Linked DNA regions of Homo sapiens: all the other regions are linked to region 3. The links are contacts of gene promoters, found by promoter capture Hi-C in blood cells and fetal thymus (Javierre and others, 2016). All regions are on one chromosome and are shown on one strand. Each heading gives the region's core, a stretch centred on a gene start or on the middle of the fragment in contact. The rest is flanking DNA. Distances are from core to core; before and after follow the strand shown. Region 1 overlaps ATP6V0A1 (ATPase H+ transporting V0 subunit a1). Region 2 overlaps ATP6V0A1 (ATPase H+ transporting V0 subunit a1). Region 3 holds the start of STAT5B (signal transducer and activator of transcription 5B). Region 4 holds the start of ATP6V0A1 (ATPase H+ transporting V0 subunit a1).

Evidence for each region. The method cuts DNA at HindIII sites, captures the fragments that hold promoters and counts their contacts. A CHiCAGO score of 5 or more calls a contact.
Region 1: a fragment that was not itself captured here is called in contact with the fragment with the promoter of STAT5B in region 3 in 1 of 17 cell types (fetal thymus); the score reaches 5.5 in fetal thymus.
Region 2: a contact is called between a fragment that was not itself captured here and the fragment with the promoter of STAT5B in region 3, in 3 of 17 cell types (megakaryocytes, erythroblasts and fetal thymus). The highest score is 6.9, in megakaryocytes.
Region 4: the fragment with the promoter of ATP6V0A1 here is called in contact with the fragment with the promoter of STAT5B in region 3 in 2 of 17 cell types (neutrophils and fetal thymus); the score reaches 9.1 in neutrophils.

Annotation. Positions count from the first base shown.
Region 1 is chr17:42,474,510-42,480,638 of GRCh38, forward strand. ATP6V0A1 (ATPase H+ transporting V0 subunit a1) reads left to right here. Exons shown (of 22, transcript NM_001130021.3): 6 at 3,151-3,233; 7 at 3,954-4,080. Among named protein-coding and RNA genes, the nearest start is that of MIR548AT, 17 kb to the right of the region's middle. The HindIII fragment of the contact is 5,083 bases long and covers 917-5,999 here.
Region 2 is chr17:42,516,497-42,522,917 of GRCh38, forward strand. ATP6V0A1 (ATPase H+ transporting V0 subunit a1) reads left to right here. Exons shown (of 22, transcript NM_001130021.3): 22 at 4,531-6,083. The coding sequence ends at 4,624. Among named protein-coding and RNA genes, the nearest start is that of MIR5010, 5.5 kb to the left of the region's middle. RefSeq lists an enhancer at 111-610 and a silencer at 1,054-1,103. The HindIII fragment of the contact is 3,596 bases long and covers 1-3,558 here.
Region 3 is chr17:42,273,381-42,280,035 of GRCh38, forward strand. It overlaps STAT5B (signal transducer and activator of transcription 5B), which reads right to left and starts at 3,011. Exons shown (of 19, transcript NM_012448.4): 1 at 2,868-3,011. RefSeq lists a silencer at 2,644-3,253. The HindIII fragment of the contact is 9,010 bases long and covers 2,376-6,655 here.
Region 4 is chr17:42,457,246-42,464,077 of GRCh38, forward strand. It overlaps ATP6V0A1 (ATPase H+ transporting V0 subunit a1), which reads left to right and starts at 1,633. Exons shown (of 22, transcript NM_001130021.3): 1 at 1,633-1,718; 2 at 3,603-3,766. The coding sequence starts at 3,650. RefSeq lists an enhancer at 1,253-1,342 and a silencer at 1,493-1,702. The HindIII fragment of the contact is 8,228 bases long and covers 1-6,832 here.

The DNA of each region.
Region 1 (6,129 bases), core at 2,208-4,707, 200 kb after region 3:
CTTTCCATAGACCTTGCCCTGCTGCTGCGTAGCAGCAGGCTCAGGTGTCACTGCCACAACTTTGCATCTGCACATGCGCGTGCACTTCAAATAATGCGAAAGATAGGACACTTGGGACCCTCAAATGTTGGAAACTTAGGATTTTTAATGAGATTTTCTTCTGTGTCTGAAATTATAATATTTGCAAAGGGCCTAAAACACTACCAGTTTTAAACCCCTTATTTTGTGTAATTTGGTGACTATAATCAATAATTCACAGTAATGAGTTAGCAGAAATGGCTAAATCAGAAAATGATTCTATATTTAGGCATAGGAGTTATGATTGGCAGGGTGTGTGTAAGGTGAAAAATAAACATATTGAATAGTCTTATGATTAAAGATGATTACAAATTTGACTTAGTCATTTCTTATCTAGGGCATTTAAAATGACTTGTTAATGATTATCCTTTTCTAAGTCTTCTTGCTTATGAAGAACTGTAAGAGCTGGAGAGATTTCTCTGCATCTTTTACCATAAGCACCATAACATATGAGAACATAAAGAAGACTGGAAAAGTAATGGTTAATGGCATGCAGATTCCCTGCTTTCCTTTCCTTCTCAGTTTTCCATCCATCTGCTTTCTTTATTTTTTTCCCATCTGCCATTTCCTTTGGGGCCTAGGTGAATACCTTAAGTAATGAAATATAATTTTTTTCTCGATGTAGATGGCAGTAATTGTTTGTTCTTGGTAATTGACATAGCTTGAACTGGATGTGCTATTTATACTTAATTGCTGTAGAAACAGAACTGAAGTTCTTCTACTTCCTTTTTGTAAGGCGTGGTTTTCAGTATCTGAATGGAGAAACCAGAGGGCATAGCAGTAATGTAGAGGCATATTCACAATGTTGTTATTAGAGAACCCAGATACCCTTAAGACAAGCTTGTCCAGCCCATGGCCTTCAGGCCTCAGGACAGCTTTGAATGTGGCCCAACACAAATTCGTAAACTTTCTCAAAACATTATGAGATTTTTTTGGAATTTTTTTTTTTAGCTCATTAGTTATCATTATAGTGTATTTTATGTGTGGCCCAAGACAGTTCTTCTTCCAATGTGGCCCAGGGAAGCCAAAAGATCAGACACCCCTGCTCTAAGATTTAGATACTTTCAACCACATGGTTTTAGATACTGCTTTAAAGGCCTTCAGTTAGTGAGTGGTTCTAGTCATCCTAGTTTCTCACCAGGCACAATTTTACTTAAAAATTTGTAACTTTTCTCTCTAAGATAGAATTCTTAAGTATGAAGTGGTGAAATTAGCAATTCAAATATTATCGCAAGTTTCTGTTGAATTTTAATTTTGTTGTTTTTTATTCTCAGAGAGTCCTAGATAGAGTCTTTGAAGTGGTCTAGTTGCTAAGTACTGTTTGCTTTTCCATCAGTTAGAGCACATGTGTTTGCATTGAGTCCGATATTTAGGGTTGACTTAAACCACGTCTTGTGAGACAGGCAGGCAAGTAGGATGGAGTCTTGTGAGTAGTCAGGCTCACTGGTTTTTGCCAAGGGATAAACCAAGAACAAGTTGAAATGTTGTAATCATCGGGATCCTGAAAACAAGTTGCTTGTAGTCAGCTGATTTGATTGCAAGTAGAAACCGAAAGAACCCCCTCAACTTACATGTAACAGCCAGTGGTAACTAGTGTCTCCATGATCTCATCTTAAACTTTTCCAATCTCATGACAGTATTTCTCTGCACTTCTGGTGTTGATCCTTACTTCCCAAAATGATTGCTTTCTATTTTTTAGGCCTTCAGACTTATCATCTGGTTTATACACAGTTTTTCCCCCTTTTTGCTATGTTTATGATCCCATGACTTTATCAAGTTATGGTCCCTGTGCCACTTTTTAAGAGTGTGGCTGACAGGGGTAGAATCAAATTGAAATTTGGAATGAAAATGATAGAGAAAAACTCTTCTGATTTTTTGTCTTATTGTGCTTTTGAAGAGGATGATTGTTCTGGTTTACTCCTAGTTTTTGGTCAAACAAGTATTGCCTGGGTATTAGAGTTGGGGAGATGAGGCAATGGAGAAGTTGATTGGACTGGTTTTTGTTTTGTTTTGTTTTGTTTTGTTTTTTGGAGCAGCTTCTCCTTTCTGATGGGAGTAAAGGGTGGTAGGATGAGTTCGGTAGAGAGAGGCTAGGAAATGTAGACCTGCGTGTGGGAAGATCCTTCTTCATTTCATTGTATAAACTGTCATGGTGGAAGTCATTTTAAATCTTACCAATTAAACCAGCCCATGAACTCTAGTTTGGTTTATTATCTGTTGTTTTTCCTTCACTTTACTTGATTCTTGAGCTGTGTTCTCAAGAATCCTACAACTGTAAAGCCTATGTGAACTTATTTAGAAGATTCCTAGTCAGAAAATGGGACATTCAGATATGTTTTTACAGGCCTGCCCAGCTATTGTGCTTCTTATCCTTTTGAAGACATAAATACTCTTTAAATCCCATGGCTTGGATCATTCTATAAGTGGCCATGCTGAAAGTTCTCATATTCTGAATTTTAAAGGGGCTGGAAACGTAGATACCTGGAGCTTCCCCTTCTGTCTTTCTCCAGACTTCACAGCATTCAAAGACAGTGGCAGTGCCTTGCTTCTTCCTTGGAAAGAGAGCCTCTATCTTTCACATTCTCACGTAGGGAAAATTCTAGTTTGTAGCTGCCTAGAAATTAAATGTTCAGAGTATCTGCAGAGTCTCTTCATTATTGCACAGAAAGAAGAGATATTTTAGCTTCCTATCTACATGCAGAGGTATTTCCTGGCACTTTCATCATTCATTCAGGGAAACGTAGGAGAGAAAATGGCTTCCACCAAGTAACAGATTTATACATGTCACCATCACTTAATTTTTTTTCCTTTTGCTCCTTATTTCTAAAACCATTTCCCCAGATGCTTTACTGGGGCAATTATGCTTTCTTTACCTCAAATTTATTTTCTGTGTTTTCATCCCCTATTCTTCTTGTCTTTTTATGGATATATCTTGTCTTTTCGTGGTTTGTTTTCTTTTTCATCCTTATTTTCTGAACCTGTCTCCTGGTTCCTCGTTGCCTGCATGCCACTAACTATTTTCATTAGATATTAATTGATTTGTGAATTCAGGCTGAATTGCATCATCAGCAGATGGCGGATCCAGACTTGTTGGAAGAGTCCTCATCCCTCTTGGAGCCAAGTGAGATGGGAAGAGGCACTCCTTTAAGACTTGGGTAAGTGCCATGTCAACTTTTCGGTATTCAGTGGGGCCATGTTCATCTCTTCTGTTCAGAAGAGCAGTGAGACTGGGGATTCACTTGCTACCAGGATATGCCCTCTTCTGAGCCTATTGAGATAGTCCTACAACTCTGGATTCATGCCTGAGTTGCTCTGTCAGCTCTCTGCTGGGTCCATAAGTGAAGCTGGGAATAAGACTTGTATTAAACCAACCCAAATGTCCATCAATGATAGACTGGATTAAGAAAGTGTGGCACATATACACAATGGAATACTATGTAGCCATAAAAAATGATGAGTTCCTGTCCTTTGTAGGGACATGGATGAAGCTGGAAACCATCATTCTCAGCAAACTATCACAAGGACAAAAAACCAAACACCACATGTTCTCACTCATAGGTGGAAATTGAACAATGAGAACACTTGGACACAGGAAGGGGAACATCACACACCGGGGCCTGTTGTGGGGTGGGGGGAGGGGGGAGGGAGAGCATTAGGAGATATACCTAATGTAAATGACGAGTTAATGGGTGCAGCACACCAACATGGCACATGTATACATATGTAATGAACCTGCACGTTGTGCACATGTACCCTAGAACTTAAAGTATAATAAAAAAAGATATATATATAAATATAAATAAAAAAGACTTGTATTAAAACCTTCCATCCCATGACATGGAATAGAGTTTCCAATCTGCCTCTTCTCCCCACAGCTTCGTGGCTGGTGTCATTAACCGGGAGCGCATCCCTACTTTTGAGCGCATGCTTTGGCGGGTATGCCGGGGAAATGTGTTCCTGCGACAGGCTGAAATCGAGAACCCCCTGGAGGATCCTGTGACTGTAAGACAAGGAGATTGCATCCTGTGGAGTAGGTCTTGTAAAGGGAGCCCAGAGCAGTAACGTAGCATGGGGCCACCTGAATCCAGTGCTTCCACAGAGGAGCCATTATCTTTATCTCTGCTCTAATTGGAGAATTTGAAGTACTTCCTCTTAGTTAATTCCTGTCATATATACATATGGATGTATGATGTATACATGACATATACATATTTTCAAGTTTACCCGTGTAGATGTTATTCTGATTGGAAATTTTTATTTTCACTCATTTGCCTTTTATGAAAATTAACTTTAAAGCAAGACATCTGGTTCCAAATTTGGTAATTTTTTTTTTTTTGAGGTGGAGTCTCACTCTGTTGTCCAGGCTAGAGTGCAGTGGCGCGATCTCGGCTCACCACAACCTCCGCTTCCTGGGTTCAAGCGATTCTCCTGCCTCAGCCTCCCGAGTAGCTGGGGATTACAGGCATGTGCCATGATGCCTGGCTAATTTTTTCTGTATTTTCAGTACAGACAGTGTTTTACCATGTTGCCTAGGCTGGTCTTGAACTTCTGATCTCAAGTGATCTGCCTGCCTCGGCCTCCCAAAGTGTTGGGATTATAGGCATAAGCCACCATGCCCAGCCCCAAGTTTGGTAATATTCATGTATAAAAAGAGAAGGAGAGATTTCCTAGACTGTGATCTTAATAAGCTGATGAAATTTTACTTGGTAAAGTTTTTTTGTTTGTTTGTTGGAAGGATTAGAAACTTAGTTTAAGAATAGATATCGCACAAAATAGGATGATCTTCCCCACCCAGTACTTCAGGAAGTAGAAACAGTTTAACATCCTGGCATTTGCCATAATGGGACAGAGTTTATCGTCTAAACCTGCATTTAGGTATGGTGAGTCCTGATTTCAGGGAGTACCAGTGAAGATAAATGTACTGCAAAAATTTTGCTTTGCTTTTGTACTAGTATTATTTAGAAACCTAAAGTTAGCTTTTCTGTTCTAAATTATCTTGTGAATTTCTTAAATTCGTGTTCTTTACCTAAAAAGAGAGAGATTGAATTGTGAGATTTCTCAGATTGGGTGGGCTGTGCAGCTGCAGGTCTTTCATCCTCCATGCCGTGGAGGAGTGTGGTTACACTTCAGGTGAACCCCCTGCCTAGGGGTGTAGTTTCACAATCTTGCCAAAGGCCATCAGGTTGTGGAAACGTTGTAATTTGTAGTCACATTAATGAGGAACTTTTCTCAGGAATATTCAGTCAAGTTTCCTCTTGGCAACAGAAAGGTTATTTTATCAACAAATCCAGAAATGGGGACCCTGGATATCTGTAACAGAGCAGGCTGCACAAAGAATGGGTTCTAGTTTAGCCTACAGAATTTAGGGATTTCAGACCCTTGAGCCCAATTTTCTTCACTCCTCATCCCCTTTTATCCTTCTAAAGTTTTGTTTGTTATTATAAAAGCTCTACATGCTGTGTATGACTATGAGAAAATACAGGCAACCTGAGACAATCCTGGTTAACACACCATACACCTTTTTTTCTGATCTTTCCTTCCAGTCCTTGCATCATACTTCAGGTATAAATTTGGTATTTGGAATGGATTACCTTCCTCCCTGCCCCATAAAGTCCAGATTAGCTTGAATTGTGAGATTCTATATCAGCATTCTTTCCAGGGACTCAGTTCCTTGTAGTTATTCAGCCCCTTTTATCTAAGAATTTCTAAGTCCCAGAACAGGCAGAAATGGCTTCCTTCTCTTTTCTCTCCTATACTTTCATCATTCAGGCAATATAAGATTTAAAGCTGAATTGGTAAATAAGTCTAAACAGTGCTAAGAGGAGCATCATCTTAGCTTCAAGCTCCTGGTTGAGTCAAAAAAACAAATAGAGAAAGATTTTTGTGAATTAGAGATTATAGGGCAGATGTTCTTGTAGTGAAGCTTAGGAAATGGAGTGAGGGCAGTGGTTAAAATGCAGGACTGCCATGTCCTTAAAAGATGCCTGTTGTTCTTGCATCACCAAAAAAGTGGGTTATTTAAGAGATTTTCATCCAGATACAGAAGTCTGA
Region 2 (6,421 bases), core at 511-3,010, 240 kb after region 3:
CCTCCTCAGTGCACGAGAACCTCTGAGGACTCACTTTTTCTTGCCCCTTGGCCTCCTTTCTTTTCTTTTCACTCCTGTCTCTTGAGCCCTGGGTTTGAGGGAACAGTGACCACCTCACCTTGATTCCAGCCCACGTGGGTAGCCGGTCATCTCCCTGGGCAGGGCGGGAGCAAGGCACTGTTGCAGAGCAAGGCCGCCTGGGCTTGAGCCTCATTTTGTTGCCAGAAGATTGCTTCCTCCTCAGGCTCACCTGTGGCCTCCCCGTGTCTTCCCAGGTCCCCCTGAACTGAAGTGATGAGTGGCAGGACAGCAGGCTCCGGAATTGGGCGACCTGGGTTGGAATTCCAGCACTGTCACACCAGGCAGGGAACCTGAGCAGAACATTCACTGCCAAGATTACTGTGAGCAAGTAGGAAGTAATGCACACACCAAGTGCTGCCACAGCAAAAGCAGGTGCTCTAGGATGGGTAGTGGCTGCTCTGCTTAAAAGTGGGATGCCCTTACTGGGTGCGATGGCTCACACCTATAATCCCAGCATTCTGGGAGGCTGAGGCAGGCAGATCACCTGAGGTCAGGAGTTCGAGACCAGCCTGGACAACATGGTGAAACCCCATCTCTACTAAAAATGCAAACATTAGCTGGGCGTGATGGTGGGCGCCTGTAATCCCAGCTACTCGGGAGGCTGAGGCAAGAGAATCGCTTGAACCCAGGAGATGGAGGTTGCAGTGAGCCAAGATCGCGCCACTGCACTGCAACCTGGGCGACAGACCGAGACTCCGTCTCAAAACAACAACAACAACAACAACAACAAAAAAACCTGGGATGCCCTAGAGAGAGGGTGTCTGCCTGGGGTCCCCCATAAAAAGACTGCTTTTAGCCTGTCTAGAGTGAGAGAAGACCCCAGAGGAGGCAGAGGATACCATCAGAATGCCCTCAGGTGCTGTTTGCAAGGAACAGCCTCCCCATATATGTCGTATTTATTTTGGCAATAGGAGTATTGGGTAGGAGAGGAAAAAACAGTGCAAACCTCCTTTGTGCAACTTCCAGAATCTCGTCTTTGGAGGGCTGTTCCCGTGACACGAGTGGGGCGCCTCCCCCACCACTAAAACAGAAGTGAATGAAATTGGTGCTTGTGCGCCCCCTCCTGGCAAAATGCGGCTGTGCGTCCAGGATGCCTGGATCTTCCCTGTGGCCCAGGACTGCAGGAGGCGTTCTGAGCTGTGGCCCTCTTACCAGGGGTGGAGCCTCTGGGGCTGCTGAACCAGCTGTAGGGATGGTGCTGCTGTTCTTCCTGGCATCCATCCTAGGCATCTTCATACCTCCCACTTTATCCCTGCTGTTTCCTGATTCAAGGGCTGCCCCATTATACAAGTTCTGGTCTCCTCAGTGGGGACAATAAGAAAAACATTTGATTCGATAACATATAAACCACTAGTGTGAGATTCATGCAGCATCATAGGAAGGGGGGTGATGTGTTTGAAAACAGTGAGCAGGCTAATGTATTAATCTGCTAATTCTGTCTCCTGAGTTTTCTCTCTTTTCCTCCCTCCTGCCACATGAAGTGTGCTTGGCTTCTTACCTACCATAATTAGACATCTTTTCTTCCTCAGAGAAGGCATGAGACAGGGATTTGATTGTAGTTATCACTGTAAACATCAAACTGATTTTTATGCAGAACTATTGCCCCAGGGCATACCTTCCAAGGAACCTGGTCTCTCCTTACCTAGCGAATTCCACATACACATAGATGTACACCTACCTGTACACTCACAGATTGGGTGGTGATTAAAGGGACAGAATCGGGGACCAGCTTCTTGTTAGGAATGCAGTGTTGCCACGGCATGACAGCATGGAGCAGTTGAGGGAATGGCTGCCCAGGAGAACTCAGAACTCTTGAAATGTAGTTCCAGGCTGCCATCATTGCCCTGATATTCAGGCCGTCAGACAGATGTGTGTTGTAGGCCCTGAACGGCACAGAGAGTGGCAGAACAGGCTACATAAACAGCTCAGCCCAGAATTGTCTTTCCAGACTGCCTGCCCTCAGTCACAACCCCCACCAGGGAAGGGAAGCGGCCCCAAGACTCCTTCCTCCTTCACCCACTCGAGGAAACAGAGTTCCTGTTACGTGGCATGAATGATGTCTTTTGGCCCCAGTTAATCCCTCTGAGTCACCAGGTGGCCTTTGCCAAGTGCTGGAGCTGGAAGAGATGATAGAGACACTCATCTGGCGTCCTGAGGCTCTCCTCACAGCTGTTGAATTCTAGAGGTGCATTTCAGTGTCTTGGGGCATGGCAAGACTTTGGAGGCTCCCTGAGCAGAGCAGTGGAGATGCCCAAAAAGAAGGAAGAACCTAGGATGGCAGATGGGGCCCCCCTTGCCCTGGGGAACTTCATGTTTGTACTTTCTCAGGAAGCACACATTTCCCCAGTTCAGCGGGAGAGAGTGGGGAGACTAGCAGGGAAATTGCTTTCCAGCTTTGTGCTGGGTGGTTGGGGTGAGGGTGGCCACGGAAGGAGGTGAAATCAGGCTGACCTCAAGATAGACCCAAGATGTCCCAGTTCTGGCCGCTCTAAGTCTCTAAAGCAGCAGCTGGTGGGAGGGGCAGTATTGGGCAGTATGTCAGGGAGGCCACCTGTCTGCTCACACAGTACAATTGATGTGCCCCTCCCAGGCATATATCCCTCTTCCTCCTTGCTGGGCCCCCATGGGTAGATAAGGTGACTGGAGGGGTGCCAAGAAAAGGGCGGTGCCCCCACAGGCATCTGAAAACAAAGCTGCTGCTCCATTTGCCCAGTTTGAAGATTAGAATGGTTTTGTGATTAGCCAGGAGGGGGTGGGGGTCAGAGTTCTGGACACCTCACTGGAGTCGGGGGTCAGCATACCCTACCAAGGCTGACATTCACTCCTAGGTAATGGCCTGGGACCCTCAGGTGACTTGTCCACTCTCTGGCTATGTATTGTTGAATGAAAAGGGGACATGTAAATCTCGTTTCAGCTGTTCTGAAATAACCCTTGCCACATGGGAACACAGTCTATTCAACATGAAGAATTCAAACCTAACACAAGTGGGTGAGAAGCAGGAACCCACTGCTAGGCCCCACCGCGTTCCCTCAGAGGTGGTCTCAGTAGCTGGAACTTGGAGAAGTAGTTTTGGTGGGGTGTTGGGACGTGGGTGAATCCAGGTCCTGGTTTGGAATTGCTCTGGTGGGAACCGTCAGCTAACGTCAGTTGGAAGCTCTGTGTCCTCCCCCTCCTGAGTCCTGTTTTTCCTGGAGGACCTTGGCCCACCCCTGTGGAATGTGGGGATGTGGGGAAGAAAGCTGACTGCTTTTACTCCCACTCAGAAAATTCGGTTGCGCTCTTCTTCAAGGGGGTGCTCCTCAGCCTGCACCCCAGTGAAGGGGCCTCTGAGGAACTCCCAGTGCCACTGGCAAACAGTCTGTAACCTTTGGGCCCCAGCCACCTCCCAGCCCCTGTTCTCTTAATTCCTGCCTTCTTGGCTTGGAGGGAGGAATCTCCATTTGTAAAAGCTGAGTTAGGGAACTAGAGGGTTCCTGAAGCTTTAAAGCGCCTCAAAGCCCTCACCCTGCACGTGACCTGTCACCTGGAGCCTGCCCCAGCCCCCACGCCTGCCTGTTCTTATAGGGGCTCCGGTGCCTCCAGGGTCACACAGCACCATGTGGAAACTATTCCTCAGGGCAGCTCTCCTTGGCCTTTTTATCCCCTGAATCATGCATTTTTCTGCCCTTATTTGGTGTGGTTTGGTTGCTGGGCAGCTGTCCAGGGTGAGTTTGCAGGAGGAAGCACAGCCAAGCAGCCTCGCTCTGCTTATGGGACAGTCTTCCTCCCACCCTCCCTGAGAGTGAAAGGGCCCCACAGAGACCATCAGGCATGGATGCTGAACTGCTGGGAAGGGAGCTCAGGCTTTTTCTTTTTAGTCCCCAAGAGAAGAATTCTTTCTCAGATGTTTTTGTGGTTGGAGAATATTTTTGCCATTGCTTTGAGAAGACTTCCCCTCCTAACTCCCCCTCTTTCCTTGGAATTTCCTTCCTTAAATGGAAAGCCTTCAACATTCACTCCAAGCTCGCCCTTTTGCTCCCCCAAGGAAAAATAACAAGCAAACAGAGGTGCTTGCCCAGTGTCTCTGGAGGGGCTTCCCTTAGAGGTGGGCTGTGTGATCCCCTGCCAGGAGGGGGCGATGGGGGCCACTTGTTCATTAACGATGTTAGGCTCAAGGTAACTGAACTTTTTTTGCACATGCCTCTCTGCAGAGAGTTGTGCATAAACACACTGCTCGGCAGGACAGAGCAAGATTGGGAACTGAGGGCAAATCCCTTCCTCCGTGCGTCGAACTCTTGATCCCAGGCCTTAAAAGTGGGATCTCTGCACTCTGGGCTTTCTCTAGCTTCCCCAGGGAAGGGAGGCTCGGGGTGAGGTGGGCACGGGGCATCTTTCCTGCCCAACTGTGAAGTCCTAAAAAGCTTCACAAAGTTTCTATTGAATGACAGCTTTCTTCTTCTCTTTCTCCAGGGTTGAGTTCCAGAATAAATTCTACAGCGGGACCGGTTTCAAGTTCTTACCCTTCTCCTTCGAGCATATTCGGGAAGGGAAGTTTGAAGAGTGAGTCCCTGTGAGGGCCGTGTGCCCCATGCTACCCTCCCCGCCTCCCTCCACAGTGATCAGCTGTGCCTCTCTGCCTGTTGGTTGTGATCTGTGGGCACCAGCTCATTCGTGTCACCCTGTCTGTGAGTCATTTAGATAGAATAGTCCTCCTTGGGTCTCCCACCACCCCTAGCTTTGTGTGTAGTGTAGTGATTTTCTGGCTGTCACTCATACTCACTGGGCACCAGCCTTGCCCTCTTAGCCTCCATCCATCCAGACAGCCCTTCCCACCTCCTGGTGGTGAGCCAGTCTGCATTCCCACGCCATCCCAAAGCCCTTTCATCTTCCCCGTGCATTGTAGATGGAAGGAGCACCCATGCCATTCACATCTAGACTTTGAGTTCCCTGCATCTGCCACCGTAGTTTCTAGCAGGAGTAGTGGGGGGAGTAATACAGATTCTTCCCTAGAAGGGGACACTGGTAACATGTCCCACTCTTGGATTAGCAGGGGTGGGTCCAGGAAGATGATATTTGCGTCTTTTGCCCACCCCCCTGGCATTCAGCTGGACCCAACTAGGCCATCATGAGTGGCTTCTCCCTGTCATCCCCAGGGGTCATAGGATATCTACACCGCCTTTCTGACCCCACCCTGCACTCCCATCCTTTCCTCTCTCCCCGTTCATGCCCTGCACTACATAGCACAGCCGGGATGCTTGGAACAGAGGCCTTGGCTGCTCCGCAGTGCACAGGGCTTCCCTCTCTCGGGGTTGGCTTCTTCCCAGGCCTTGCATGGGCCCTGCCCACAAGCACACCCTCAGGCCGAGGGTGCAGACTGATGCTCTTCCCTGATGGAGACCCTGAGATCTTCCCCACCCCCAATCATGATGTCTTCAGTGTGGGACTGGGGTCCTCTTGGTTCTGCCTGCAGCCTGCCTGGCTCCGCCCCTAGTGCCCCCTCCTCACCACACTGGCCCCAGGTCTCAGGAGGGGTGTCCTGGGCAGGGAAGGTCAGTGTCACTGATGGTTTGCTGTTTGGAAGCCATTGGCAGGGCTGCCGTGCATGTGGCTGTGAGGGCTGCACAGTCCTGCCAAGGGGCTTCCTCCTTGTCACCCCGAACCTTGTAATCGTGTGCTGGCGTGGCAGCCCTGGCTAAGTTAATCCCCACCGCTTTCAGTGGTAGAAAGAATTCCCTGAGTGGGCCAGGCTGGTGCCCTCCTCCTACCCTGGCTTTTCTGAGTGAGCTGCCTGGAGCCCTCATCCCCTCTCCCAGGCTGGGCTGGCCCTGGGCGGGGCCACTGTGTGCTGGCCCACTGTGACCTGACCCGACCTTGTGCAGCCCCCCTGCCCTGGTGTCCTGGGTTTTCGTGATGATCTTTGCTCTGTTTCCAGTGGGGTTTGAAGCAGAGTTCAGGGAACCCTGCCCAAGGTCCTCCTGTTCAGACATTCCTATGTTGAATAAAGTATGTTTGACTTCCCCGGAGAAGCTGCCTGTCACTGTGCCCACAGCCCCTGCGTCGCTCCAGGCTCAGCCATCTTGAGCCCCTGTGGACCCCTGACCTTCGCCTCCCTCCTCCAGCATTGCTGCTTTTCCTTCTATCAAAGGCCACAGCTTCAGTAGGCCTGGCTGGGCAGTTGGTTTGGGAAATTCTCACCTTGTCCCAAGTTTCCCAGGCGCCTTCCCACTCACAGGATCCAAGTCAGCTCTGCAGACACTACCTGTGGGAAGAGGGGACTGGGCAGCCCATCTTCGTCTCCCGTTTACTCATTGCACATCCAGACAGCATGGGGGCAGAGGGGCACTGGGTATCTCCCCACGCG
Region 3 (6,655 bases), core at 1,761-4,260:
TTGATATTTTATAGTATCAAAATAAAAGGATATTCTTCTCAAGAGTCCAGTAACCTGGAATTGCCAGATAGCTTTTTAAACGAATAAGTTTCAAATTATCAGAAAAATCATACAAACTAGGGTTATTTTGCTTCCTTTTGTAGGAATAATGCAGTAATCTGCACTCTTAACAGAAAGGGAAAAAATGTGTCACAGATAGAATGTCCAGAAATCTGTGAATAACTTTATGAGATACAGACATTTTTGTAGGGCACGAAAATAGTTAGGCTTCCTTCGATTCCACCTGTAACCTGCATCTAATCTTGAGCATGTTATTTACCTATCTATAACGTCTTCCTTTTACAATAAGACTACCTGTGTCACCTACCTACATAACAACAAGCCAAATAAACCACAACAAATGGATTCATAATATATAAGCCTAACAAAAATTACAGACAATTTGAATACTAACAATACTATGATTTGAAAAAACTCGACTTAAGTATCAAAAAGTAATAAATGGCAACTTTAGTCTTGATGTGGCTTTTACATATGTAAATGACATAAAAACAATCAAGAGAGGAAGAAAATGGAGATGAGATGAAAAGTCAGAGCAGGATAGGAAGTGTTGACCAAAATATTTATGTTGTAACACTCCAAACGATGATAGCACATTTTTCTCCTACAATCATACATACTATGAAGTACACACCTTAAATTTCTGAACACAATCCATATTAATATCCCGTGGGCAAAAAATACAAGCACCGAAAAGGTGAGAACTGATGAGAAGGTGGGATAGTTTACCTAGTTGGGTATATAGCAAAGATTATTTTGTGCAGAGTTTAGCTTCAAGTTATGCAATAACCAAACTACTGGTGATAGAAATCAACTTTTTTTTTCTGATGGTTTGCTTTACAAAAAAAAAAAAAAAAAAAAAAAAAACCTCTCCATTCCTTCCCTGTGTCTCAATCTGGAGCTTGAAATTTCATCTTCCAGAGGCTACAGTAGCAAACAAGTCATCTCCTAGATAACGCGCTTACCTGACCCAAGGTGTGGACTTGTTTGAATTAAACGTAACAGATACCACAAATTGTCACATAGGAAGTTTTTCTTAAAATCAGCAGCCCCTTCTCTTATTTAGCCATGTCCATTCTAACAACTGTGATCTTCCATGAGATGGAAACTGGTACCCAAATGAATAAACAAAACAACCCAAAGCCTTAAAATAAAATCAATCAATAAGATTCTCCCCATTTGAAGTGATCAGAACCACTCCAATATTTACAGTGTTACAAAATGAAATTTTAAAACATGAAAGGCACACTCAATAAAATACATCCTCACCTAGGAACTCACAGGCAATGAACATAACGCAATATAACATAAGCAAATGGACAACAATAGAATGTTGGGGAGAGAGGCACAGTTCTATTACCTTAATTGAAAGATAACAAAATTATTTGAAATAATGTAGACCCAACAGCTGAAAGCTTATTATGGCCCAGGCGGCTATCCAACAGCTTTGGAAACCTAAGATCCAAGCAGACCATAAACACCACTTGAAGACTGAAAAAAATGACATAAGCCCAAGTATGATATTCAGTGTCACGCTGGCCCTTTCAAAGGGCATTCCCTGAGGACACTGCAGAGAAAATGTATGGAATTGTATCTAGGCAAAGATCTGTATACTGCACGATGCTTTGGGAAGAGCACGAATCTCAGAGTCCTTGAAGTTTCAATCCCTGGATACTCAACAAACAGCCGTGTCACCTGAGCAGGCCACTTACTCCACCTATCTGGGCCTCAGTTTCCTCATTTGTACAATAAAAGAATGGCATCATCGCTGGGTTCCTTTCCAGCTCTAACATTCTTTGACCCACTTTTGGCACTATTTATTTGATACGAGGTATGGCGGGATCACAGGGACCAAGAAGAAAAGAACTGACTCTGGCTCTTTGGCAAAGAGAGAATCGGTATCTCTTTTAGTCTTTAAAATTCTTGTGCTTTTCATTAATCCCGTCTTTCTAAAAGCTGACACTTGGTTTTCTTCTTTGGCTTTTCCATCACTGCTGGCTACAAGTGTTTGCAACCGCCTCTTGCTCCGTGTGAGTTCTTTCCTCTTTGTTCACCCCGACCATCTTGCCAGATTCCTTTAGCCTCAGACCAGCTTTTGTGATACAACTCCCCTTCCGACTCTCCATATCTACCCCCCGACACCAGGAGCACTTTTAACCCTTTATCCCTGACTAGAAAGAAAAAGCACACTGCATCCCACGGCCACACGCACGAGCCCAGGCCTGGCGGGTCCTGATGTGGGATCCCGCCCCCCAGAGTCTTATCGAAACGTTCGTATTTGTTGTCTTGATTCCTTATAAGGCCCTGTTTCTTGAAGCTTTGCTAATACCCCCCACCGCACCAGGCACCCCCGCAGGCTCATCCCATCCCCGGAGTCCCGGGAACCTCTTTTGAAAGAAAGAAGTTAAAGCAAGGAAGACGGCTGGGGATATTCGGAATTGCAACGTGAAGGTGTGAGGCGGCTGACAGCAGCCCCCTGAGCTCCTATGGGGTCGGCGCGGGGTCCCCACACACCCACTCAGCACACGCGCACGCAGCCTTTAAAGCGCACGCCCCCCGCGGCGCCGCGGCGTTCGCAAGTCCCCCTCGCGCACCCCGCATTGCCCTCAGCCTCCCCGGCAGCCAACCCGGACCCCCTCTCCCCGCGCGCGCCCCTCGCCCAGCGCGCAACCACCGCGGCCCGGGAGTGATGGCGGCGGCGCGGCCCTGACGGGCGGCTGAGCGGCTGGAGCGCGGGCCCCGCCCGGGCTGGCTCCCCGGCCTGGCTCCCCCGGCCCCGGGCCCAGGGCTCGCCCCGCAGCTCCTACCTCGCTCGGCCCCTCGGGCGCCCGCGGCTGCTCCGGCCCAGCTGTCTGGCTTGCCCGCCCGCCCGCTCGCTCCCTCCCTCGGCCGGGCCGCCGCGCGGAGTTGCCTGCGCTGGGTCCCCGCCCGGGGTGACGGCTCCGGCCGCCGACTCTCCTCCCGCCGGGGCCCGCGGGGGCGCGCGCGCCGCTCACGCGCGGAGGCCCAGGGACGCGCGCCGCTGGCAACCCGGAGCGCGCCCCGCTTCCTGGTTCCGCCCGGCGCGCGCTCGCTAGCCCGCTGTCCCTCGCGCCCCCTCCGCGACCGCCCTTGAAGGACCCGGACCCCCTCGGCACACCCGAGGTGGCGGCGCGCTCGGCGGTGCCGGTGCCGGCGCCGCGCGCACCCCCTTTCTGCGGCGGTGGGGTGTCTTCCCGGCTCGGCTCCCTAGCCGACGCCGCACCGCAAGCACATGCTGCTTTGTTTGGGTTGGGTCGACCACCACTAGCAGGGCTAGGGCGCACTGTCGTGGTCGTTTTGGTTGGCCCCCTCCGCGGCCCGCCCACCTCTCTCCCTGGGAGCCCAGGCCCGCGTTCCGGGTCCTCTCCCGCCGAGGCCGAGGTCAGAAGTCCACAGGGGCCCCGATCAATAATTATCCTGGGTTTGCCCCCGGGAGGGCGTCTCAGCCAGGGCTCCTGCCGCCTGCATGGGCACGGCAGGAATTCACATTCGCCCAGGCCGAATTCACCTGTCCGAGTTCCAGGGTGAACCTACGGGGGACGGGGCGCCTGGGGCCGGTTCCCTTCCTGGGAAAATCTGGCTGGCTCCCACCAGTCAGAGCTGCGGGAGGGACTGCTCTCTCTAGAGAAGAAAGAATAAACAGGGTCATCTGTAGGATCCAGGGGAAGGGGGTCCCCCAGATCCTTTCCACGTGCTGAGGAGGGGGTTGCGGTTGTGGGAAGCCAGGCTGAGTCACCCACTCTCCTTTCCTCTGCTACGTCTATCTCCCGGAGCTGGCCAGCGGTTTCCCTGGCAACCCTCCAAGGGCTAGCACTAAAGCAAGACATAGGAAAGCTCCAGAAGCCAAGCTGCAGGGGCCAAAAGAGAGAGAAGGACCCCTCCCGCCCCCACTCAGACACACAGAGCTCCCCTGTGTGTATGCAAAACGTTCATGTCCAGAGATGGCCCAGAGCTGCAAGTTCTCCCATAGTCCTCCCTGGGCAGCTCTTTCCAGCGGCCTTCTCTTCACCTCCAGAATGACACCAGCCACAAAGGTCTCCAGCTGGTCAAAAAACCCTTCTCCGCTACCCAGGCCACTGCTGCAGTCCCATACTCTGGGCCAACACCTGGCACAGTGCTTTGCACAGAGTAGGTTCAGGGAGCTTGGAGGCCAGAGAAGGAAGCAGGAAGCAGGATGGATGCGCCAACCAACCCCGAGCTCTCTGGCAATCTCCCTGACAGTTACTGCCCATGATGTTTTGACACTCAGGTGCTCCATGTTCTCCATATTTCTCTTTTATCTTTTCTTTTTCTTTTCTTTTTTTTTTTTTTTGAGACGGAGTCTCTCTCTGTTGCCCAGGCTGGAGTGAAATGGTGCGGTCTCAGCTCACGGCAACCTCCACCTCCTGGGTTCAAGTGATTCTCCTTCCTCAGCCTCCTGAGTAGCTGGGATTACAGGCGCACACCACCACATCCGGCTAATTTTTGTATTTTTGTAGTAGAGACGGGGTTTCACCATGTTGGCCAGGCTGGTCTCGAACTCCTGACCTCGTAATCTGCCCGCCTCAGCCTCCCAAAGTGCTGGGATTACAGGCATCAGCCACCGCACCTGACTCATGTTTCTCTTTCTTGTGAGCTTTCATCCCTGCACACATGCTATTCCCTCTGCCTGGAATGTCCTGCCTTCTTGATGTCTGCCCTTCGGTGACATTTGCTTCAGGCAGCATGACCTCCCTCCTTGTTTCCCACCGCGTTATTCATGCCTCTATTACAGCACTTCTTGTGTTGAAGGACAATTTCATGTTTTCATGTTTCTGTCTCTGTCCCCAAGGGCAGACGCAATATGCTATTCACTTTTAAATCCTCCTACTCGTGTTCAAGCCCAGAACAGACACTCAATAAATATTTTTGGAACAAATGCTATGCTCTAGGAATGCAAATGGAGGTTACAAGGACTATGCAGTCATTAAGAGGACAGGGTCTAGCCCGGTGTGGCGACACACACCTGTGGTCCCAGCTACTGAGGAGGCTAAGGTGGGAGGATCACTTGAGCCTGGGAGGTCAAGGGTGTGATGATTTTTTTTTATTTTTATTTTTTGGAGACAGTCTCACAGAAAAAGGTCTCATGGTGTGGTGGCACAATCACAGCTCAAGGCAACCTCCTGGGCTCAAGCAATCCTCCTGCCTCAGCCTTATGAGTAACTGGGACCACAGACGTGCACCACTACTCCCAGATTAATTTTTTAAAATTATTTGTAGGCCGGGCACGGTGGCTCACGCCTGTAGTCCCAGCACTTTGGGAAGCCAAGGTCGGTGGATCACGAGGTCAGGTGTTCCAGACCAGCCTGGCCAATATGTTGAAACCCTGTCTCTACTAAAAATACAAAAATTAGCTGGACGTGGTGGTGCGCGCCTGTAGTCCCAGCTACTGGGGAGGCTGAGGCAGGAGAATTGCTTGAACCCGAGAGGCAGAGGTTGCAGTGAGCCGAGATCACGAAACTGCACTCCAGCCTGGGGCGACAGAGTGAGACTCCATCTCAAAAAAAAAAAAATATTTGTAAAGACAGGGTCTCATTATATTGCCTGGGCTGTTCAAGAACTTATGGCTCAAGCAACCCTCCCTCCTCAGCCTCCCAAAGTGCTGGAATTACATTTGTGAGCCACTGTGCCCAGCCTGAAGCTGTAGTGAGCCATGATTGTGCCACTGCTCTCCAGCCTGGGCGACAGAGTGAGACCTGTCTCAAAAAAAGAAAAAAAAAAAAAAGTACAGGTTCTCAAACCAGACTCTGTCAATTCCTTGAGCTGGGTAATCTTGAGTGTGTTTTCCTCTATCTTCTCGTTTGTAATGTGGTGATAGAGACAGTACCTACCTCATCGGGTTGCGGGAAATAAGTGTTTACTACATGTAAAGTGCTTCACTGTAAAGCACTGTATAGCGGTTAACTACTACTGTGGTGTTTAGTAGCAGCTAAGATGAATACTCCTCTTCCCAAGACCGGCGGTCTAGGACTCAAGCCAGCTGGTTTGTGGCAGCCACAGGGCGCTAGTTTAAATGTCCTGAAGGGGGCCGGGCGCAGTGGCTCACGCCTGTAATCCCAGCACTTTAGGAGGCCGAGGCGGGTGGATCACCCGAGATCGGGAGTTCGAGACCAGCCTAACCAACGTGGAGAAACCTCGTCTTTACTAAAAATACAAAATTAGCTGGGCATGGTGGTGCCATTACAGGATTACATGCCTGTAATCCCAGCTACTTGGGAGGCTGAGGCAGGAGAATCACTTGAAACTGGGAGGCGGAGGTTGCGGTGAGCCAAAATCACACCATTGCACTCCAGCCTGGGCAGCAAGAGCAAAACTCCATCTCAGAAAAAAAAAAAAAAATGTCCTGAAGGGTGGGTGGGAATGCCTCTTGATTCTTGCAGCTCTAGGCACATCTCTGACTGATGGTCACCAGGCACCAAGCTAGACCTGGCTGGGTGTGTGCACAGATGCTGAGGACAGAATGTTCTGGGTCACTACCTCAGCAAAACAGAATGTTGTCATCCTGGGATGGGAAGGCCTGACACCTGCTTCTCTGCTTGACAGTTCTGATGGGGTG
Region 4 (6,832 bases), core at 383-2,882, 180 kb after region 3:
TTGATGATGTTTTTGTCAGGTTGACAAAATTATCAGCAACAAGTTTTTATCTGGAATATCTCCCTCATTACACTTGAATTTCAACAGGGTTCCACCACCCAGGAAGACAGAATAACCGGTTTTCTGAGTTTTTCCTGATACAATTCTGGTTATCACAAACGACTTGAGATCCCTACTCTTCTTTAAAAGGGCAAGAAAAGGGAATCAATATCAATATTTGATAATGGCATTTAAAAAATAATAGACATCACTTTTGCGTTTAAAAAATGTTTTTCAATATTTAATTTACAAGTTGAGTACAAGCCATAAAAAATGTTTTTAAAATAAATTTGAGGAATTGAAAACTCCTAAGTGGTCAATTGAGCCCACATGAATCTACCAAACAAGACTGAAATGTACTTTCACAACATATGGTCTGATGAGGTTTTTCCTGTTAAACAGAGAAAAATAGACCCGGGGAAGTTGCTGGAAGGCATGAACCATGTACCATTTAAAGAGAGGTTTTCCATACTTATGCAAATGAGACCCCGTTAAAGACTCTACTACAGGATCTAAAGCTAGCCGCTCCCCAGTCTGGGGCTCAAATGTTCTCATCTGTAAAATAAGGGAAAAGAGAAAGGGTGGTATATGTGTCTGCGTATTAATTATTTGAGTGTGTGTGTGAATTCTTTGGATATGAAAATAAAGAGAGAAGACATTAATTATTTGGGTGCGTATGTGTGAATTAATTCTTTGGATATGAAAATAAAGAGAGGGCCGGGCGCGGTGGCTCACACCTGTAATCCCAGCACTTTGGGAGGCCGAGGCGGGTGGAGGCCAGGACCAGTCTGGGCAACATGGCGAAACCCCATCTCTACAAAAAATACAAAAATAGCCGGGTGGCGTGGTGCGTGCCTGTAATCTCAGCTACTAGGGAGGCTGAGGCAGGAGAATCCCCTGAACCCGGGAGGCGGAGGCTGCAGTGAGCCGAGAACGCGCCACTGCATTCCCGCCTGGGAAACAGACCATCTAAAAAAAAAAAAAAAAAAAAAAAAAAAAGGCCGGGCGTGGTGGCTCACGCTTGTAATCCCAACACTTTGGGAGGCCGAGGCGGGTGGATCACGAGGTCAGAATTCGAGACTCAGCCTGGCCAACATAGTGAAACCCCGTCTCTACTTAAAAAAAAAAAAAATACAAAAATTAGCCGGGCATGGTGGTGCGTGCCTGTAGTCCCAGCTACTTGGGAGGCTGAGGCAGGAGAATCGCTTGAACCCGGGAGGTGGAGGTTGCAGTGGGCCGAGATCACGCCACTGCACTCCTGCTTGAGCAACAGAATGAGACTTCAAAAAAAAAAAAAGAAAGAGAAAAGACAACCTACCCCAGTATAAGGGGTAAGAAAAAGGATTCAGGGAGGCTCAGGAACTTAAGGCCTCGAGCACCTGCACCTCCAGCCCCACCCGCTAACCCTCCCCAGCGTGGAGATACAGCACAGGGGCCAACATGGCGTCAGCACGCTGGGTCTCGCCTGCGACCCCCGTGACTCCGCACTGCTGCAGCCCGGGCGAGGCTGCGCCCCATTGGCCAACTGCAATGAGGTCATTGCGGGGGCGGGGGCCGGCGGCGGCGCAGGGGCGGGGCTTTACGGACGCAAGCACGTCGAAGCGCTGCTCCTGGAGCCGCGGAGGGTGCGGGTTTGGCTGCGGTGGTTTCTGTGGCGGTTGCTGTGGCGGAGTTTGGAGGTGAGTGGGGGCTGTAGGTTTAGCGCAACAGGGAGCGGCCCTCGATGGACGTAGGAAATCCTTCTAAGAGCCCCCTTGATTGTCAGAGGAATTAGCGGGGATCTGACGTCTTCGAGATAAAATGGGGGTTCGCCCCCTCCTTGGGCACCCCTCCTCTGCCCTGAGGAACCGGAGGCTCACTGCCCTTTGGAAGCCCCGCATCTCTTCCCTGCTTTAAGGGGTAGGCGGAGGAACCGGAGGTTATTGGATAGGCAGAAGAATTTAGGGGGCTTCTTAAAGGGTTTCTCAGTTTGGGGGTTTTCCTCTCCTTTTTTCCCATCTCAAGGTAGATGAGCCTGAGTCCAGAGAATTCCTGCTCATTGGGTAGACAGGAAATGAAGCAGGTGAATACCGTGGGAGGAGGCGAGGACCGGATGACAGGAGTGAGATTCTTCTAGGCAGGGCGCGGGGGCGCTGTAGTTGGACTCATCTTTTGCAGAATTGCTGTTTCTTCATATTTTGTTTTGTGATCGTCCAGAACTACTTTGGCCTAATTAGTTTTCTGTTAGCCTCCATTGCTATAGAGATATTCTTGGGAGACCTATAATCATTAAAGAGCAGGAGGACGGAGGCGACTCGTTGGAGGCTTATCATTATCCACAGCTCCTGAACTATGCTGACCAGGCCTAATTTTATGTGTTTAGAGGTTGTAGAATCTCTCTTTGTTTAAGGGTGGTGCCGGTAACAGCTGATTTGGATGATTCAGATGTACAGAATCTTAAAGTCAGCCTGCATATTCTCTTGAGAAGTCCTTGCTTATGTCTGAGCTTGTGTTACTGTCTTGAACATCACATGCACAAAGGTTTGTTCGTTCAGATTTCTCAAAATGTCTCCCAGCCTTCCAGAAGAGTAAATCTTCCTTTGATGTCAGACTCATCTATCAGTACTCAGTATAGATGCCCTTATGACACTAAAAATACTGTGCATTTTTCTGAGTTTGGATACTGGACAGGCTGTGCCTTACATTAGCTGATCGAGAATAAATAATTGCAGTTTCAGGACCACTGATAGCGCCAGTTGTCTCATACCCGGCAACAGTAAGACAGCACTAAAACGAAACCTTTATTGGCTCATGAGATTTGACAGATGGAAGAATGTAATTAATCTTGAAGGTAGGGTTGAGAAACAGAAAGCTGCAGAGGTGGAAGGCTTATTCTCTGTGGCTTGATAAAACTGCTTTGTCATTATCAGTGTGTTCCTGTCATGCTTGATTTGAAATTGAGCTTAATATGCAAACTGGTTGCTTTTTCCAGATGACGGTTATTTGTTTGAATTCCTAAGTGGGGAAATATTGTTTTCTGAGGAATCTGGAAGATTAAACCCTTTAGTGTAGCCATAGCTTTAGGATAGTGCCAGAACTTTGGGCTTTTAGAAATGCGCATTGTCAGTAGAAGGGAGAAGGATAGTTACAAGGCAGACATCTTTATGAGAGGGTATTGAAGGCCTCTTCTGTTTGTTTCCTGCACTAGCAAAAACAGATTGAGCAGTGTGAAACTCACTGCCTCAATATTGTGTCCTGGGTATTTAAAGAGTTGTTTGAGGTTCCCAGTTCCTGTCTTTAATCTGGATACATTCTTATCAGTTGAGTTGCCCAAAATAATTGTCATTTGATCCTGATGTTGACTGGAATGGAAGTGACTTTTCATCTGACACTCTGTGGGACAGAATTCAGGAACTGCCTTTGCAATTTCTCCTTTCCATCTTTCTAGACAGGGTGTCAAAAACAGTTGTTGACCTGTCCTCATGGGGTGTTAGAAATGTAAATGCAAGAGCCGTAGTGGGGTGTCATTTGCTCTTAGCCCTCGTGGTAATTTCCAAAGTTATGTCATTTTCTCTTTGCTTCAGGTTGGAGAGAAATCCAGGTACTCACTAGACTGGTACCTTCTGCCACCATGGGGGAGCTTTTCCGGAGTGAAGAAATGACACTGGCCCAGCTTTTTCTACAGTCAGAGGCTGCTTATTGTTGTGTCAGTGAATTAGGAGAACTTGGAAAGGTTCAGTTTCGTGACGTAAGTAGTTGTGGGGCTGCGACTTGATTACTGCTGAACTCTATTGCTATCGTGGTCAGATGCCTTATGATGAATGTTTTGTTTTTTATTTGCAAAAATAACATTATAGCACTGACTTCCTATTGGCAGAATGCACATTTTGAGTTGTCTTTCTAAAGGTGAGAATGTTTTGTGCCAATCTTTACATGCTTTTGCTAGCTCCCACTTTCAGAACAGTCCTAAGCATTCTCCAGGTAATTGTTTGGGATGCAGGGAGAGGTTACCAAACTAACCTGATCAAGGCTTTCACTTGCTAAATAGCAAGGTATTTAAAAAAATATATTGCAGTTTTTCCATATAGTAGGACATTTTAAAAAAAATAAAATTTGAGGTATCCAGCTACAGATATATAGTATATAAATAAGCATATACTGAATATTCATTATTTTGGAATATTATACTGGGCACTTGGAGAAGCTATCTAAAGAATATGGACAATCTAGCCTGGGTACAGTGGCTCACGCCTATAATCCTAACACTTTGGGAGGCTGAGGCGGGCGGATCGGGAGGTCAGGAGTTTGAGATCAGTCTGGCCAACATGGTGAAACCCCGACTCTACTAAAAATACAAAAAAAATTAGCATGGTGGCGCAGGCCTGTAATCCCAGCCACTCGGGAGGCCGAGGCAGGAGAATCGCCTGAACCTGGGAGGCGGAGGTTGCAGTGAGCCGAGATTGTGTGATTGCACGCAGCCTGGGCGACAGAGCAAGACTCCGTCTCAAACAACAACAACAACAACAAAAAACTTGTCATCCTTAATTTGCAGTTCTTCATCTGGTCCTATGTTGTCCCTCTGCTTAACATCTATTGGCTCTATTCAGCCTTCTTTTCTTTTACTTATGCTGTACTTCAGTCATACAAAAAAAAGAGATAGGGGCCAGGTGCAATGGCTCACACCTGAAATGCCAGTACTTTGAGAGGCCAAGGCAGGAGGATCGCTTGAGCCCAGGAGTTGGAGACCAGTCTGGGCAACATAGGGAGATCCCGTCTCTGCCAAAAAAAAAAAAAAAAAAAAAAATGCCGGATGTGGTGGCACATGGCTGTGGTCCCAGCTGCTTGGGAAGCTAAGGTGGGAGGATCGCTGAAGCCCAGGAGGTCGAGGCTGTAGTGAGCTGTGATTATGCCACTGCACTCCAGCCTGGGTGACAGAGCATGACACTGTCTCAAAACCAAAAAAAAAAAAAGAGGTGGGGGGAGTATTATAATGACCACCTATGTTTCTACTATCTGCTTAAGAGGGAAACATTCCGTGTATAATTGAAACCTCTGTTTCTCTTTGCTCCATGCCAGTCCTTTCTTCCACCCCAGAGGTAACCCGTACAGTGATTTGTTTTGCTTTTATTTCTCCTATGTGTGGTTTTTGTTGTTGTTGTTGTTGCTTTTCTTTTTGAGACAGAGTCCACTCTGTCGCCCAGGCTGGAGTGCAGTGGTGTGATCTCAGCTCATTGCAGCCTCCGCCTCCCAGGTTCAAGCAATTCTCCTGCCTCAGCCTCCTGAGTAGCTGGGACTAAAGGCATGCACCACCATGCCCAGCTAATTTTTGTATTTTTAGTAGAGACGGGGTTTCACCACATTGGCCAGGCTGGTCTCGAACTTCTGACCTCTGGTGATCCACCCGCCTCGGCCTCCCAAAGTGCTGGGATTACAGGCATGAGCCACCATACCTGGCCAACAGATATTTCAGTTTCTTCTAGTTCTGTTAATTTTTTTTTAATAATAAAATTTATAACATTAAGAAAAAAAATAGAGATGGGGGTCTCGCCATGTTACCCAGGTTGGTCTTGAACTCCTGGACTCAAGCGGTTCTCCTGCCTCAGCCTCCCAAAGTGCTAGGATTACCGGTGTGAGCCACTGTGCCTGGCTGAAATGTACACATCTTAAGAGTACAATTTGCTGAATTGATAACTTTATACACCTCTGTAACCAGCACCCCAATCAGGATATGGAACTTTTTTTTTTTTTTTTTTTTTTTTGGAGACAGAATCTTGCTCTGTCGCCCAGGCTGGAGTGTAGTGGTGCGATCTTGGCTCACTGCAACCTCCGTCTCCTGGGTTCAAGCAATCCTCCCTCAGCCTCCTGAGTAGCTGGGACTACAGGCGCACACCGCCGAGCCCGGCTAATTTTTTTTTTCTATTTTAGTAGAGATGGAGTTTCACCATGTTGCCCAGGCTGGTCTCGAACTCCTGACCTCAGGTGATCCATCCCCCCTCAGCCTCCCAAAGTGCTAGGATTACAGACGTGAGCCACCAGGCCCAGACTGAACATTTTCATCAGTCCAGAAAAGTATCTGTGTCTACTGCTAGTCAGTTGCTACCCTTCATAGGTAACCTCTGTTTTGATTGCTGTCATCATAGGATTAGTTTTCCCTGTTCTTGAATTATATGTAAACGACTCATACATTGCAAACTCATGTCTGACTTCTTTCACTCAGCCTCTGTTTCTTGCATGTATCCGTAGTTCATTTTTAAAAATTGCCGAACGGTAAGTAGTTCATTGTATGATTACACCACAGTGTTTTCATCCTTTCTTTTGTCATTACTCTTTTGGGGCTATTATGATTAAAGCTGAAGTAAACATTATCATAAAAGTCTTTTTTTTAGTTTACAAGTTTTGATTTTTCTTAAGCAAATACAGTTGATCCTTGAAAATGCAGGGGTTAGGGGTGCCAATCTCCCCATGCAGTCAAAAATCTGCATACAATTTTGACTCCTCCAAAACTTAACTATTGATAGCCTGCTTTTGACCAGAAGCCCTACCAATTTCATAAACAGTCGATTAATACATATTTTGTATGTTATATGTATTGTACACTGTATTCTTACAATAAAGTAAGCTAGAGAAAAGAAAATACTGTTAAGAAAATCATAAGGAAGATAAACTGTATTTACTGAAAGTGGATCATCTTGAAGGTCTTCATCCTTATTGTCTTTATGTTGAGGAGGCTGAGGAGGAGGAAGGGGAGGGGTTGGTCTTACTGTCTCAGGCTGGCCGAGGTGGAGGAAAATCTGTGTGTTAGTGGACCAGCAGA